Regions from separate parts of the Homo sapiens genome. Here all the other regions are linked to region 2. Evidence: promoter capture Hi-C in human tissues and cell types (Jung and others, 2019). All regions are on one chromosome and are shown on one strand. Each heading gives the region's core, a stretch centred on a gene start or on the middle of the fragment in contact. The rest is flanking DNA. Distances are from core to core; before and after follow the strand shown.

Evidence for each region. The method cuts DNA at HindIII sites, captures the fragments that hold promoters and counts their contacts. A contact is called where the count stands out against the background at its distance.
Region 1: a fragment that was not itself captured here is called in contact with the fragment with the promoter of SLC4A11 in region 2 in 1 of the 25 tissues and cell types used here (spleen).
Region 3: a contact is called between a fragment that was not itself captured here and the fragment with the promoter of SLC4A11 in region 2, in 1 of the 25 tissues and cell types used here (spleen).
Region 4: a fragment that was not itself captured here is called in contact with the fragment with the promoter of SLC4A11 in region 2 in 1 of the 25 tissues and cell types used here (dorsolateral prefrontal cortex).

The regions. Positions count from the first base shown.
Region 1 is chr20:3,580,264-3,583,590 of GRCh38, reverse strand. It overlaps ATRN (attractin), which reads right to left. Exons shown (of 29, transcript NM_139321.3): 16 at 1,237-1,456. Among named protein-coding and RNA genes, the nearest start is that of GFRA4, 81 kb to the left of the region's middle. The HindIII fragment of the contact is 8,776 bases long and covers 1-3,327 here.
Region 2 is chr20:3,237,237-3,240,589 of GRCh38, reverse strand. It overlaps SLC4A11 (solute carrier family 4 member 11), which reads left to right and starts at 1,400. Exons shown (of 20, transcript NM_001174089.2): 1 at 1,400-1,495; 2 at 3,002-3,046. The coding sequence starts at 1,453. RefSeq lists silencers at 1,151-1,310, 1,411-1,590. The HindIII fragment of the contact is 33,876 bases long and covers 1-3,353 here.
Region 3 is chr20:2,905,758-2,908,979 of GRCh38, reverse strand. All of the region lies in intron 1 of PTPRA (protein tyrosine phosphatase receptor type A), which reads right to left. Among named protein-coding and RNA genes, the nearest start is that of PTPRA, 34 kb to the right of the region's middle. The HindIII fragment of the contact is 8,451 bases long and covers 1-3,222 here.
Region 4 is chr20:3,643,862-3,647,476 of GRCh38, reverse strand. It overlaps ATRN (attractin), which reads right to left. Exons shown (of 29, transcript NM_139321.3): 28 at 3,209-3,323; 29 at 1-754. The coding sequence ends at 630. Among named protein-coding and RNA genes, the nearest start is that of GFRA4, 18 kb to the left of the region's middle. The HindIII fragment of the contact is 3,961 bases long and covers 1-3,586 here.

The DNA.
Region 1 (3,327 bases), core at 519-3,018, 340 kb before region 2:
GTGATCCACCCGTCTTGGCCTCCTAAAGTGCTGGGATTACAGGCGTGAGCCACTGTGCCCAGCCAAGACTTTTCAAATGTGGGTGATGACCCATTAATGTGCCATGAAATCAATTAAATGAGAGAAAATAGAAAACAATAAAAGTCATCAAGTACTGTTTAGTCAAGTGTATTTACACACTTGTGGAAAAAATAAATTTTCTTTTCAAAGAGCATTAAGGACAAAGATGAGGAAACAGTGAATCTTTCCATAAAAGTAGGGCTGTAAGCCCCTTAGAATTTGGGGACCCAGGATGAACTTTAGGGGTTTTACAATCCACTTGAATATGTAAAATCTCATGTTTGCAATTTTGGAGGGAAGAAGGTCTACGGCATTCATTAAGTTCAACAAAGGATTCAGAATTCTGAAAGGCTGCTGGGCAGCTCCCCTAGAGAAGTTTAGAAATCAATATTTAGAAATCTACAATGCTATGAATTCTCTCCTATACCTCTGTAATTCCTCAGACAAATTACTTTCCCAAAATTGGACACAATGCAAATGGAGTCCAGCCTCCCAAAATAATCCACAATTCCACCGACTGCTTGTGAGTCCCTCTGCAGGAGGAGGAGGCTTATTTTGAGTTGTCTTCATGCTGCAGCAGCTACCCCTGGGCCTGCCTTTAGTTAGCCAAAATGTAGCCCAGAGAGACTGAAAGCTGGGAAGCTACTCCGAGTGTCTGTCTGCTCAGTACTCTCCTGCAGCTCTCGCGTAGTTCTGGGTTGCTTCTGTCCTCGCTTACAGAACTGCTCTCATCATTTTTCTCCCTGTTGACACTACCTTTCTGAACACTGTCCCTGCAGTCACTTGCTTGCTTTACTAATCTTTTCTTTGTTTTTATTTTCCTTTTTTGTTTCTTCTTCCACAGCATTTCTCTGCCAACACCAATAAATTTGCTTTTCAGAGCAATTCTCAATACTTTTTCTGGTCAATAAACCTATCAATCTCATTGTTAATTAGAATATCAGTTTCTTCGAGTAGTGTTAGTTATTTTTAGTTTTGCTTATAATTAAAACTATTCAGGGTCCCAGAATATTTCCTTCTGCTTCTGAAATCTGGGTTATACTCTTCTTTGCATGCTTGAAATCAATACTTCATCTGTTTTCATGACTACTTCACACATCTCAGCAATGAACTATGCCTCCTATGGTTTCTCTCACAATAAACTCTGAATACCACCTAATTCACCTGTGAACTTACCAGGCCTTTCACAGACACTACCATTGAGTGGGTTGATGCAGGTTGCAGCCTTCAGTCCCCGAGTACTGGGTTCTGATAAAATTCCACAGAATCCAGCATCACTGGGCTCAGACGGCATCCACTGTAGTAAACTATTTGTAAATGGGGACATATCTTCCCAGCACCAGTAGGACACATTGATCTTCCGAAGGCCGACCCATGGGGTTAAGGTGAGCTTGGACTAAAGGCAAAAGAGACACAACTATGAATACAGATAGTATCTTTTTTTAATTTAAATTTTGGAGATGGAGTCTTGCCATGTTGCCCTGGCTAGTTTCAAACTCCTGAGCTCAAGTGATCCTCCCACCTTGGCCTCCCAAAATGTTGAGATTATAGGCATGAGCCACCATGCCTGGCCTGAATATAACCAACATCTTGACCAAAACAAGCTTCTAGATAAAAACCACCAAGTTAAGTATACCCCACAGACATAGGAAAACCTCTTTATCCCTTGACTCAGCCATGGTAGATTAGGATAGATCATCACTTCAATATGGCCATTTTATAAAGGATAAAAATGTAGCTCAGAGAAGATAATATATCAAAAATTCACAGAAATTATAGCAAAGCAATATTTAAGTTCTGAAATGTCTATATGAAGAGATGGCTACCCCCAAACACAGGCTGAGTATCCCTAATCTGAAATCCAAAACACTCCAAAATCTAAAACTTTTTGAGTGCCAACATGATGGATGCTGAAGGAAAATGTTCACTAGAGCATTTTGGATTTCCAGATTAGGGATGCTTAACTGGTTAGTATAATGCAAATATTCTAAAATTCGAAACACTCCTCGTCCAAAGCATTTTAGATAAGGGATATTCAACTTATACCACATTTGCTTTATCCATTCATCCATCCTGGCACTGGATTTTATAGGGAATAATAGGACAGTGACACCTGGGACAGTCTGTCTTCTGCTCTCCTGAAATTTCCTTCTCATTGCAATTTTTAACAAGTTTTAAAAATCAAAATATAAAGTTTAGCCAAGAAATGGTAAGTATTCCTAATTTTGGTAGTTATAAAACAAAAGATATACTGTATTTCCCTCCCTTTGCTTTCTTTTGAGACAGGGTCTCGCTCTGTTGCCCATGCTGGAGTGCAGGGACATGATCATGGCTCACTACAGCCTCAAACCCCTGGGCTCAAGCAACCCTCTTGCCTCAGCCTCCCAAGTAGCCGGAACTACAAGTATGTGCCACCATCATGCCCGGCTAATTCTTTAAAAAAACTTCCTTTGTAGAGACGAGGTCTCCCTGTGTTGCCCAGGCTAGTCTTGAACTCCTGGGCTCAAGCAATCCTCCCTCACTGGCCTCCCAAAATGCTGGGATTACAGGCAGGAGCCACCACACCCAGCCTATTTCCATTTTTGAGAGGAAAAAATACACATGCCTACTAAAAGACCTAAAAATAAACAGATCCAAAAGAAAGAAAGACAATTAAAAATACTTTTTAAAGGCCCTTCAATAATTTCTTTGCCTTCACGATACAATTCAAATCCATTACTATTGTAGCCATGGCCTCGCAGGGTCTGGCCTTGGTTCCTTCCTGAGGCTCAACTATAAAAATCCCCTCCCATCCAGCCTGCAGCCAACCATGCAAACTTACCTGCAGCTCACTCAAAGAGCCACTCCCTTAATCATCTCCCTCTACATCTCACAGATGGGGGCACTAATTAAATCACAGAAAGCCCTTCCGTCTTCGACATCCTAATTCACTCCTTCTCACCTGCAGGGGTCACCTCCTTCCAGCTTTCTACCAGCCAGCCTCTGTCCTAAGGGTTAGGCTAGGTGTCCTTTCTTGTTTTTCCATAAAAATCTGGGCTCTACTAACTGGGCTACATCTAGAGGTATAGCTGTGGAAGGACATTACACTTCAGTTGTCTCTCATCTGTCAGTCTTATCATTAAGACTGTGAATTTCTGTTTCATAAACGTGGCCACAGCAGATTAGAATACCCAGAAACGTTTAGAGTTAGAAAACCTAAGGAAGAGAGAAAGGGTACCAGAAGTATATCTGTGGCCACCTGGTTGAACCCTTTTAACTTCTGTGGAC
Region 2 (3,353 bases), core at 151-2,650:
CTGGAGGGCGTCTAGGAAAGGTCCCAAGGGGTGCGCAGGATGACCTGGTGTCTCTCCAGAGTCACCCCTGCTAAAATACTATGTGGCCAGCCCCAAGTCAGTTGCAGGTCATGGTGTTGGGATCTTCCACAAGGCCTCCTGGAGTCGCGCTGGGGGAGGGTGGGGTACTCAGTCTGTCGCAGAGCCCCAGGCCATCCGTCGCCAAGAGGAGCACTCCAGCGCTTCCCTCCTAATGCGTTCTTATCTTGCCGGGAGGAGAACTGGGCCAGCCTTACTCACCCAATCTATGCATGAGGCTTCCCCAACGCGCCAGAAGCCCTTCCTTCGCAGAGGTGGGCTTGCCCCGGCCTGTCCCCGTTCCTCTACCATGGTTAGGGCACAGTGGCCGAGGACTCCGTCCCAGCGCGGCTGAGCCGGAAAGCGATGGCGGCCGGAGGGGTCGGGAGGTTGGTTAGCGCTTTACGGAGCTGCGTGTTCCGTTTCCAAGGGCTGTAGAGCCTTCTACTGGGAGCCACCGTGGATCAGGCCAGGGGTTCGTCAGCTGCATTTGCCGGATCGCATCGCAGCACGCGCACCCACACGCGCACACGCCCTACTCGCAGGAGACTAAGCGCCCCGAAAAGGCGCGTCCCCGGGCGGGTCGCAGCCGGTCCAGGAAAGGGGACAGGGCGCAAGGGCCATTTGGGGAAGGAAAAAGGGGGCGAACCATGACCTTGACCTCATAGAAGGCCGAGGACGTGAAGAGGCTGGCAGATAAGTTGGCGAGGCTCGCAGCGAAAACCCAAAGCAGCCGAGCTCGGAGAGCGCCGTCTCAGCGGGCGAGGGCGTAGCCCGGGGAATGCACGGAGGTCCGTCTAGTCAGTCGGGGCGCGCTTCCTGGAGGAGGAGGAGAAGGACTTGCGGCCGGAGCTACCGGGATAAATGCAGGAGGCGGGGCAGCCAGCGGGCGTGGCCCTGCGGAGGTCCCCGGTCGAAAGGAGGAGACAGGGGCCGGCCGCGTACTTAAAGCGGACGCGGGGGAAGCCCTCCCGGGGTCTGCCTCAGTCGCACAGCTCGGTGGGCTCGTGGCGCAGTCGAACGTTTTCCCAGAAGCTCCCCGGCCCCGTCCAGCCCCTAAACTCGCGACGCTGGGTCTGCTGGGTCCGGCGCGCACAGGCTCGAAGGAGCCGGGTCTACTCGGTTTGGCCCAGCAGCTGCGGGCGGCGGGGAGCAGCCCAGCCCGGCTGGAGCAGCCTCCCGCGGGTGAGGGCGCGGGGCGGGCGGCCGGGTCCCAGCCCTCGGCAGCTCTGCCTACCGCGCCCGGGCGCGGCGTCTGAGCGGCATTAGGACCCAGGCGCGGCGTGGGGGTGTGTCGCCGGCTCCCGCCGCCGGCCCGCCCGAGTCGCCGAGTTTGGGGTCCAGAAGCGCCGGAGCGCCGCGTGAGGAGCCCGGCCGTGAGTGCGCGAGTGTGCCATGGCCGCGGCCACCAGGCGCGTGTTCCATCTGCAGCCGTGCGGTGGGTGCCTGAACCCGGGGGCGCGGCGGGAAGGCCGCCCGGGTCTCCGCCACCGTCTCCCGTCGGGGACCCCGGGGAGAACGCGGATGCCGTCTGCCTGCGCGGGCCGGGGCCGGTGGGCGAGAGGGCTGCGGGATTCCCAGCCGCGGGGAGGAGGGCGCGGGTGCGGGAGGCCCGGGCGCGGCTTCGCGGCCACCGCGCGCTTGGTTTCATTAGGGCTCTGCTGTCGCCGTCTTGAATTTCTTACCAGGTTTGAACAGCTGATGCAGCGGGTCGAGGGCGGGGAGCTCGAAAGTGGGCAGGGCGGAGCTGTGGGGCTCCCAGCGCCCCGAGCGCCGAGCTTTTGGGAGCCTGGCGGGCCGCCGCCTCGGAAGGTCTCATTTTACCTTCCGCCCGGGCATCTTCCCGTCCGGCGCCGCGGTGGGAGCCCCGGAACCCCTGGAGTTTTGGGAGTCCCGGGACCCCTGACCGTGCCCTGCGCGGCCGCAGCGGTTTCTCCCTTGCTCTGACACGGGAGGGCCAGCCCTGGGTCCCCGCCAGGACCCAGGTTTGTACGACCCTTTACCTGCACGTGGGCCGCCGGGACGGAAGCGGAGTGTGCACCGGCCCAACCCTCCCAGACCCTCGTCGCCCACGGCCTGGGACGCGCCCCAGCGCCCCCGCCCCCCACTTCAGGATGCAGCCCCGGCTCCCGCCCCGCGCCTGCATTCACATCCTGCGCCCCGACCCCCGGGGTCTCCGAGTCTGGAGGCGCTTTCCTCTCGTGCACGCGGCCCCTCCTGTCGCTTCCTTCCTCCGACAGCGAGGCACAAACAGCCGGGACCATCCGGGGACCGGCCCAGGGAGGGCGCAGCCTCCCCCGACCCATGTGTCCCTCAGATACTCCTCCCACCCCCAATTGTTCTCCCTTTTGGACCAACGGCTCTGGCTTCCAGGCGGCCGGGACGCGGTCCCAGGACTGGAGACCGTTGCCTGTCGGCCCCCGTGTGACCCGGGGCGCGTGACGGGGGTCGGGGGAACTGCGCCTGCAATGGGCGTTTATGGCCCCCAGGACCGGTCTGAGAGTGAGAAGAGGGATGTGCAGAGAGATCCCCCGCCTTGGCATCCGAGGAGAGAGGGGGAGAGGCCCGCTCGGGCCCGGTCCCTTCCTCTCGCTGCAGCGGGGCAGGGTTTTCTCAGGAAAACCTGGATTAGCGAACATGGTACTGGTACTAACTCGGTGGGAAGACATCCCTGGAACGTCTCTCCTCCTCGCCTCTGGCCCGCCTGGGCAGCCCCTAGCAGATGGGCTAAGCAATTGAATTTCTGAGATTAAGGCTGGCTTCCCCTGCTATGGGGCCCCCTCCCGAGCACTGTCCCCTGCTTCCCTTTCTCCCTAGGGTGGCGTGGGTTGCATCCCTCGGAAGAGCGAAGGAATGAGCCAGGTCGGGGGGCGGGGAGACAGGTGCACACAGGAGGTCCAGGGCTTGGTCCATGGGGCTGGTGACCTTTCTGCTTCCCTTGCAGAAAACTCTCCCACCATGTCGCAGAATGGATACTTCGAGGATTCAAGTGAGTACCTCTCGGGGAGTGTGTGTGTGCAGAGAGAGCTTGTCGGGCAAAAGCCTCCAGGGTGCATAGCCTACCCACCAGAGTCCTGTGGCTTTGCTCGCCTATCTGGGCCACTCTAGTGCTGGAATGCTTTTGGCTTCCACTCTTCGGGAAGCTAGACATGGGCGGATCCCCCGTGGACCTGAGAGGGCAGGCTGCCCATTCTCCTGGGCTACTTGGACCAGGTGAACCCTCTGGGATTCTTACCCAAGGTTTTCTGTGACAATGGCCTGTTATCTGACTAGCCTTGGGCCAAGAATTCTGTGTG
Region 3 (3,222 bases), core at 153-2,652, 330 kb after region 2:
ACAAATCACAGTCACAAAGTTATAACTCAACAGCATGTTTGGTGCCACACATGCATATTGTCATACTGTGACATTTTATTTTTTATTAATGCATAACTGTTATCAGTAACTAAAAGTCGTTATTATTTTGACATTTTATTAGTACATAACTATCATTAGTTATTAGTGCATAACCATCATGTCGAAACAAAAACAAATGCACTTTGAATGTCATGTTTTTCATTTTTTTTAATTTTGTATTTTTTTAAAACTAGAGATGGACTCTCACTATGTTGCCAAGGCTGGTCTTGAACTCCTGGGCTCAAGCAATCCTCCCACCCTGGCCTCCAAAAGTGCTGGGATTACAAGTGTGAGCCACCACACCCAGCCTGAATGTCATGCTTTTAAGGCACAGTGGAGGGTATGCATTATTTTATCAAGACAAGATAGGGAAGCATTTTGTTTATTATGCAATGACTCTACGGTCATCCCTTGGTATCTGTGGATCAACCGTGGATACCAAAATCTATGCACACTCAAGTCCCACAGTGGCCCAGAGGATACAAAAATTTCACTGTTCTGTATCTGGGGGTTTCCTCAAATAACGTATTTTTGATCCACGTTTGGTTGTATATGTATAAACTGCTGATTGTATTTATTGAAAAAAAATTCTCATATAATTGGACCTGTGCAGTTTGAAACTGCGTTGTTCAAGGAGTCAACTGTCTGTCTGTGCTAAAAGAATTCAAAATACATCAATGTTACCAAACTAAGGACCGATCACAGTATTTCCGATTCACAGGAAAGCAATGGTCAGAAAAATTTGAAAATTTAAAGTGGAATATTTCATTACAGCAAGGAGGGAAGGTAAGGAATAGAAAGTTTGTAAAGGAGGGAAGTTTCTAAGTAGCTCATTTGTTAGCAAAGCAAGAAAAGTAATATTCTAGTGATAAGTGAATTAAATCATGAAGAAGCTGAAGAAATGTATCCAGAGAAAATAAACTTGTTTAAGAGTATTAATTAGCCTTTCTCTAGGCTTTCTCCAGACAGGTAACAAAAAAATTATTTTTTAAATTTAATATAAGATAATTTAAAAAGAAAAAAAGACTATTAGCCTTTCAACAAAATCATTTGCTCTAAAAGTCGAAAATATTAGGAGCAAGATCAATAATCTGTTTAAAAAAAAAACCAAGGCAATTGAGGTTAAGTAGATTTCCATCTCTTTTGAATGAGTTTGATAGATGTTACAACACTGTTCAGATGTTTATTCAAGGAGTCAGTGCCAAGTTTAAAACAACTGAAGAATTAGCTTCTATGAATAGTCTGTGTTGAACAACTACAAACAAGAAGGTGAAAAAGTACTAATTCCATATAACCTAAAGTGGAATCTCAGATACGTTATCATTGATAATGGTAAAAATATGTGTGAAGCAGAAAAAGGCTTAGTTGGGTGATTTATAAAACGTGAAAATGTAAGGTGGTTATTCATGTTTTTTATCAATAGATATTCTATGAAAAATATCTGAATTTATCATGAATTATTAAACCAACCATGTTAATGGTGAATTTCATTCACTGCCATGGGCTTAACCATTGTCAGAAACAGAAGCTGAATAACCTGACTTGCCCAGGCACACAGCAGTTTGACGGCTGAGCTGTACTAAAGTTTTATCATGCTTTTTTTTTTTTCTTTTCAGCTTGGAACTGAGATTGAAATTTTTCACAACAATAAGACTGCTTTCAGACACTATGATCAAACAATAAATGGCTTTGAGAATTAGCTTTTGCTAATTTTATAATAGTAAATTCAACTTAAAATTACAGGACAGAACAACACTTATATATGAAACTTAAACTGTTGTTATTTAGACAACTAACTTTTGAATCATAAGCAACGTTGAGCTGCTTTATACACTTTACATGCTATCAAAAGTTAAAACAAGAAGTGAGATCTCCATTCCCAAACAAATTTGCAGTGGATATAGTTTCTTAGCTCACACTACATTTCCAGAATAATTTTTAGGACCTTAATGCACAAGGAAATATCTATATTTCAGTATCTATTTAACAGTGCAATTGTGGAGCTTCTGTCTAACCTTCCATTGGAAGTAATTAAGCAGCAATGAATAATATACTAAAAGGTAAATGTTATAAGAAAAACCTAATTCTATAAATGCTTCCTGAGTTATTAATATGCTCAATTAAAATCATATGTTTATGGGCTGGTATCAATTATTTGACATGTATGTGTGAAGACATGTCAAAGATGAAATATATAAAACCTCATTACAGACCTGCATTAATAGATAAATACTTGCAATCAATTTTGATGATTATTTATTGAATAGGAAGCACTAACTCTGAACTCCAATTAAGAAAATGTTATCACTCCGAAAAGAACTCCATTCTTCTCATTAGTATACCTGTATTTCAATAAATTGTGTTTATTATTTTGAATTTAATCAATTAAGAAATTTCTCAAAATTTGTTTTCTCTCTTGTTATATCAGAACGTACGTATTACCCTTGATTCTACTTCAGCCTGCAAAATCTAAAATATTTACTATCTGGCCCTTTATAGGAGGATCAGATAATTACTTCTTTGGAGAAAGGTTTTCTTCAGCCGAAGCATATAAAAGCTTGTCCTCTATCTCCTTCTGGGATTGGTAAAAACTTATCTAACACAAATAGGACTCAGGGCTGACTGGTTACATGAAAAAGTACAGTATATCAGGTAATTTTAAAAATGTAACTGAAATATTTGATTTTTACTCAAAACAAATACATGTCACCTGCCAATATTACGGTAAAAAACCAAGGCCTCTTCTTTAAGTACATTTCTACTAATTAATGTTTCAAATGTTCTCTCTTGCATATTCATTACAAATATATCATATCCATAACCCATCATATCCATAATCCACATTTGTGATTTCAAATTTCAGTTTCTTTAAATGGAACAAGAATCTAGGCAACTGTAAGACAACTGAGTATAGATCGTTTAAGAATTTTACGAGGTCAGGTGTGGTGGCTCACACCTGTAATACCAGCACTTTGGGAGGCCGAGGCGGGTGGATCACCTGAGGTCAGGAGTTCGAGACCAGCCTGACCAACATGGAGAAACTATGTCTCTACTAAAAATACAAAAAAGTAGCCAGGTGTGGTGGCGCATGCCTGTAATCCCAGCTATTCGGCAGGCTGAGACAGGAGAATCATTTGAACCCAGGAGGCAGAGGTTGTGGTG
Region 4 (3,615 bases), core at 357-2,856, 410 kb before region 2:
ATTCAAAGTAACACTGCTGACCTTGACATTTAAAATAGCCCCCCTTCTATCCTAGCTTGATATGATCAAAAGAGATGGACCATTATTAATTCTCAACTAGAAAAAAAGGTACTCCCTGGAAGAGAGATAATTGCCTAAATCGTGCAAGAATAAATAGCACATCTTTTAAAAAAGATAGCAGGCTTCAGATGAAAACAATTCATCTGACTAGTTTTTAAAAGACCATGTTCAAGAACAACTGATGACGAATGTCTACTTGTAAACACTCCATCTTTTGTTTTTTGCACAGTTGAGACAGTCCCAAGAACAGTTTTCCACAGTGAACCTGAGTGTCATTCCTAGTTCTCTCACTGGCTCTACACTGGCCTCCTCCAGCAACCATCAGCTCATCCCTGGACCTGTAATTAAATCAAGTATTTCCTATGCAAAAGTAAAAGGTTAGATGCTGGAACACGGATGGGAGAAACCGTCAAAGAAAGCTTGTGATCATGCAGGTGAGTCAGATGCTTTGAGGGTTTCCAGTCTTCCGTCCCGCACCGCACAGCCATTTCCCCGCCACGCCCTTCCCTGCAGATGGCTCTGGTGTGCCACTCACTAGCTCGTGCGTGGGAGAGTCCCTGGCCCCAGCATCAGATGCAGGTCCCAGGCTGTGCAGGGGGCTGCTGCTTCCGGTTTCTCACGGCTCCTGACTTCTCCTTGTACACTATCGGCATCTGCTGAGAAATGTCCACCAGGGCGCTGGCCACAGCAAGACCTTGGGAGAACCACAGAGAGAACATATGCTGGGAGCAGCTGGCTTTTATTTTGTTTTAAAAAATAATTTAAACATTTATTTTTCAATCCCATGGTGCAAAACAAACAAACCAAAAAACCAGAACAAAAAACCCCCAAAAAGGTACACATACACAGGGAAAAGTCTTCCTTCCACCCTGACCCTCCCTCCGCCTTCCCCTCCATCTGGGTAAACGCTTTCACTAATTTTTATGTATTCTTTGAGGGTATACTTATGCAAATACAAATACACATTCTTCTCCTTTCCCTACTTTTTACACAAAAGGTGCAGTTTGCTTTTCAGCACATCAACCAAGCACAGTGCTCTGCTTGGTGGTGGGAACATATAAATGAGATTGTAGACGTGTGCTAAGTGCCCAATTTCTCCTGCCTTCCTCCAAAAGGAGCCGAGAAACAGCAGCACGCTTTATGACGAGATTCAGATTCACCCCTATCACTCAGTCAGCATTAGTCACTTCCATTCCATACCACGATACAGGCAGGGCAGGCTCTGGGGCCAGGCTTTGGAATAAGCAAGGTTCTTTAACCTCCCTGCACCTCAGTTTCCTCATTTGTAAAATGGGGATAATAGTAGTACAGGGCTAGTGTGAAGAATCAATGAGTGAACTGACAAAGTCTTAGTACCTGGCATGCATAAAGTCTTAGTATCTGGCGCGCAGCAACCCACGATCAATAGCAACTACCCTTTATGCTCATCACTGCCCCGCCGCCCACTTTGCTTTGGGGACTTGCAATCCCATTTTCCTTCCTGTATTGATAACGGAGTAATCTGACATCCATTAGGGAAGGCACGGTTCTGGGGGAGCTGGATTCCTAATATACGTGGGAAATGGCCAGCGCAGGCTCGGAGCTCTGCTGAGACCTGCCAGGAGTTGTGTTAGTGGAGCGTGTTACTTGCCTTGTTGAGCCTGTGAAGGGGAGTGGGGGTGGGGGTAGACAGCTGTAAGTGCCTGGCACACAGTGGGGAATGCTCTGGGAGCCTAGAAAAGGGCACCACTTAAAACAGGGGGTACAGAAGGGGCAGCAAGGACGGCCCCACTGTTGGGTGGGTCTCAAGCATTGAGCAGACCTTTATTAGGTGTTTCAGGTGGTTGGGGCATGTCAGGCAAAGGCTGGAGCAGGAAAGGCTACAGGGCTGCACACCTGTCACCTTGCCGCCCCAGCCGCCACCCTGCCCTCAGGGCACACCAGCCACTGTTTGCTGGGCTGGGCGGTGGCAGGAGACACAAACTGCACTTGAGTGACAGACGAGAGAGTTGTCCTGTCCTCAACACAGGCAAGGCCGAGTTAGGGGCTCAACTCACAGGAATCCCTAGGTGAGATGAAGACAATGAATCCTGGCCGAGCCATGTCGAAAGGCCTCCCTCGTGAAGATACTATAGATCCTAACCATTCTAAAGCTGGGCTGGAGGATCTTCTGGGTCTGAGGGTGCACTGAAGGGACAGTGGAGCTCAGGGCCTGGACCAGTATCCTGGGGCAGCCTTTCCACCAGACACAGGGTGCTCTCTGGCTAAGGTAACCCTGACTCCAGAATCATCTCAACTGAAAGTTGTCTAAAATGATCACATTGAGGCATCCTCCAAAGCACTCTGTAATTAAGCGAGATACTTTCAAAACTGTATTCCATATTTTCTGTCTTCAAAATAGAAGTTTATATAATCATGATTCATATATTTGATGGAGAAGTGTCACATGCATTGGTAAAATATTATGTAGTAGGCTATAAAAATGTTTAAGATAGTTATATGAAAAAAGCAGAATAAAAATTAGATCTATACAATCATTTCAACTAAATTGCTGGCCAGGGCTGGAAAGAACACAGAACAATGAAAATTGGTGGGTTGTGGGATAGCAGAACTGTGCGTGGATTTTCAGACGTTTCCTTTATGTTATCGTTGTGTTTGTGCCTTATATTTAAAACAGTGAAAAAGCAAAAGAAATGCAGGAGGGCTAGAAATACCAATTGAAGAAACACCAGCCCAGGGGAGATGGCTGGAAGTTGTGGAGTGGAGAAGGCAACTGAGGAAGAACATGCAGGGTGAAGGGAGCACACCCAGATTCAGGGGCAGGACAGGGCAAAAGAGACAGGGAAAGAGCAGCAGAGGCAAAGGGGGACCAGAAACTCCGACAGCAAAGGAAGGTGTGGTCAGAGGCATCCACGAGCACTGAGAGGCTGGGGAGGCCAGAACGGTGAGGAGGTCCCGGGACGTCCCCCCAGGAAGGGACGATGACCTCGGGAAAACAGTTTTGGGCATATAGGTGAAAATGGGTTATCTCACTGAATCCTTGCCATGGCATGGGCAGGCACTGTTGGTTATCACCTTTATAACCTTGTTCTCTAGGAAAGGGAAGTATCCCATGCTTAGCTCCCTCACATGCTTAGAAGGTGTCTTTCGCTGGACCGCATCTACTCACCTGACTGCCCAGGAGGAGGGATGCCACCCAGGCCTCGAGGGAGCCTCACAAACACAGAGAGGACAGCGGCTTTGTTGCCAAAACACGGCTCCAGTGCAATGGGTTTGGGAACAGTCTGGCAGAAGAAAACAAAATTACCTTAAGTGATACTCAAGCTTTAATGTATACGGACAACTTAACGGTCATTTGTGCTTATAAGAACCATCAATTTCAGGTATATAAAAAAGGTACATTGCAGTTTTTAAGATAATGAAAAAGGGCAGGAGAGAGCTAACAGTACTCTCTGAGCACCAGTGACACGGGTGGTACTGCTTGCTACCTTCCACTGAGGTCTCGCAGTCCCCTTCCAGAGGGCTGCTTGAACTGTAGGGAAGGGGCCACGCCAAGTGGGTTTCTTCTGGATGCTG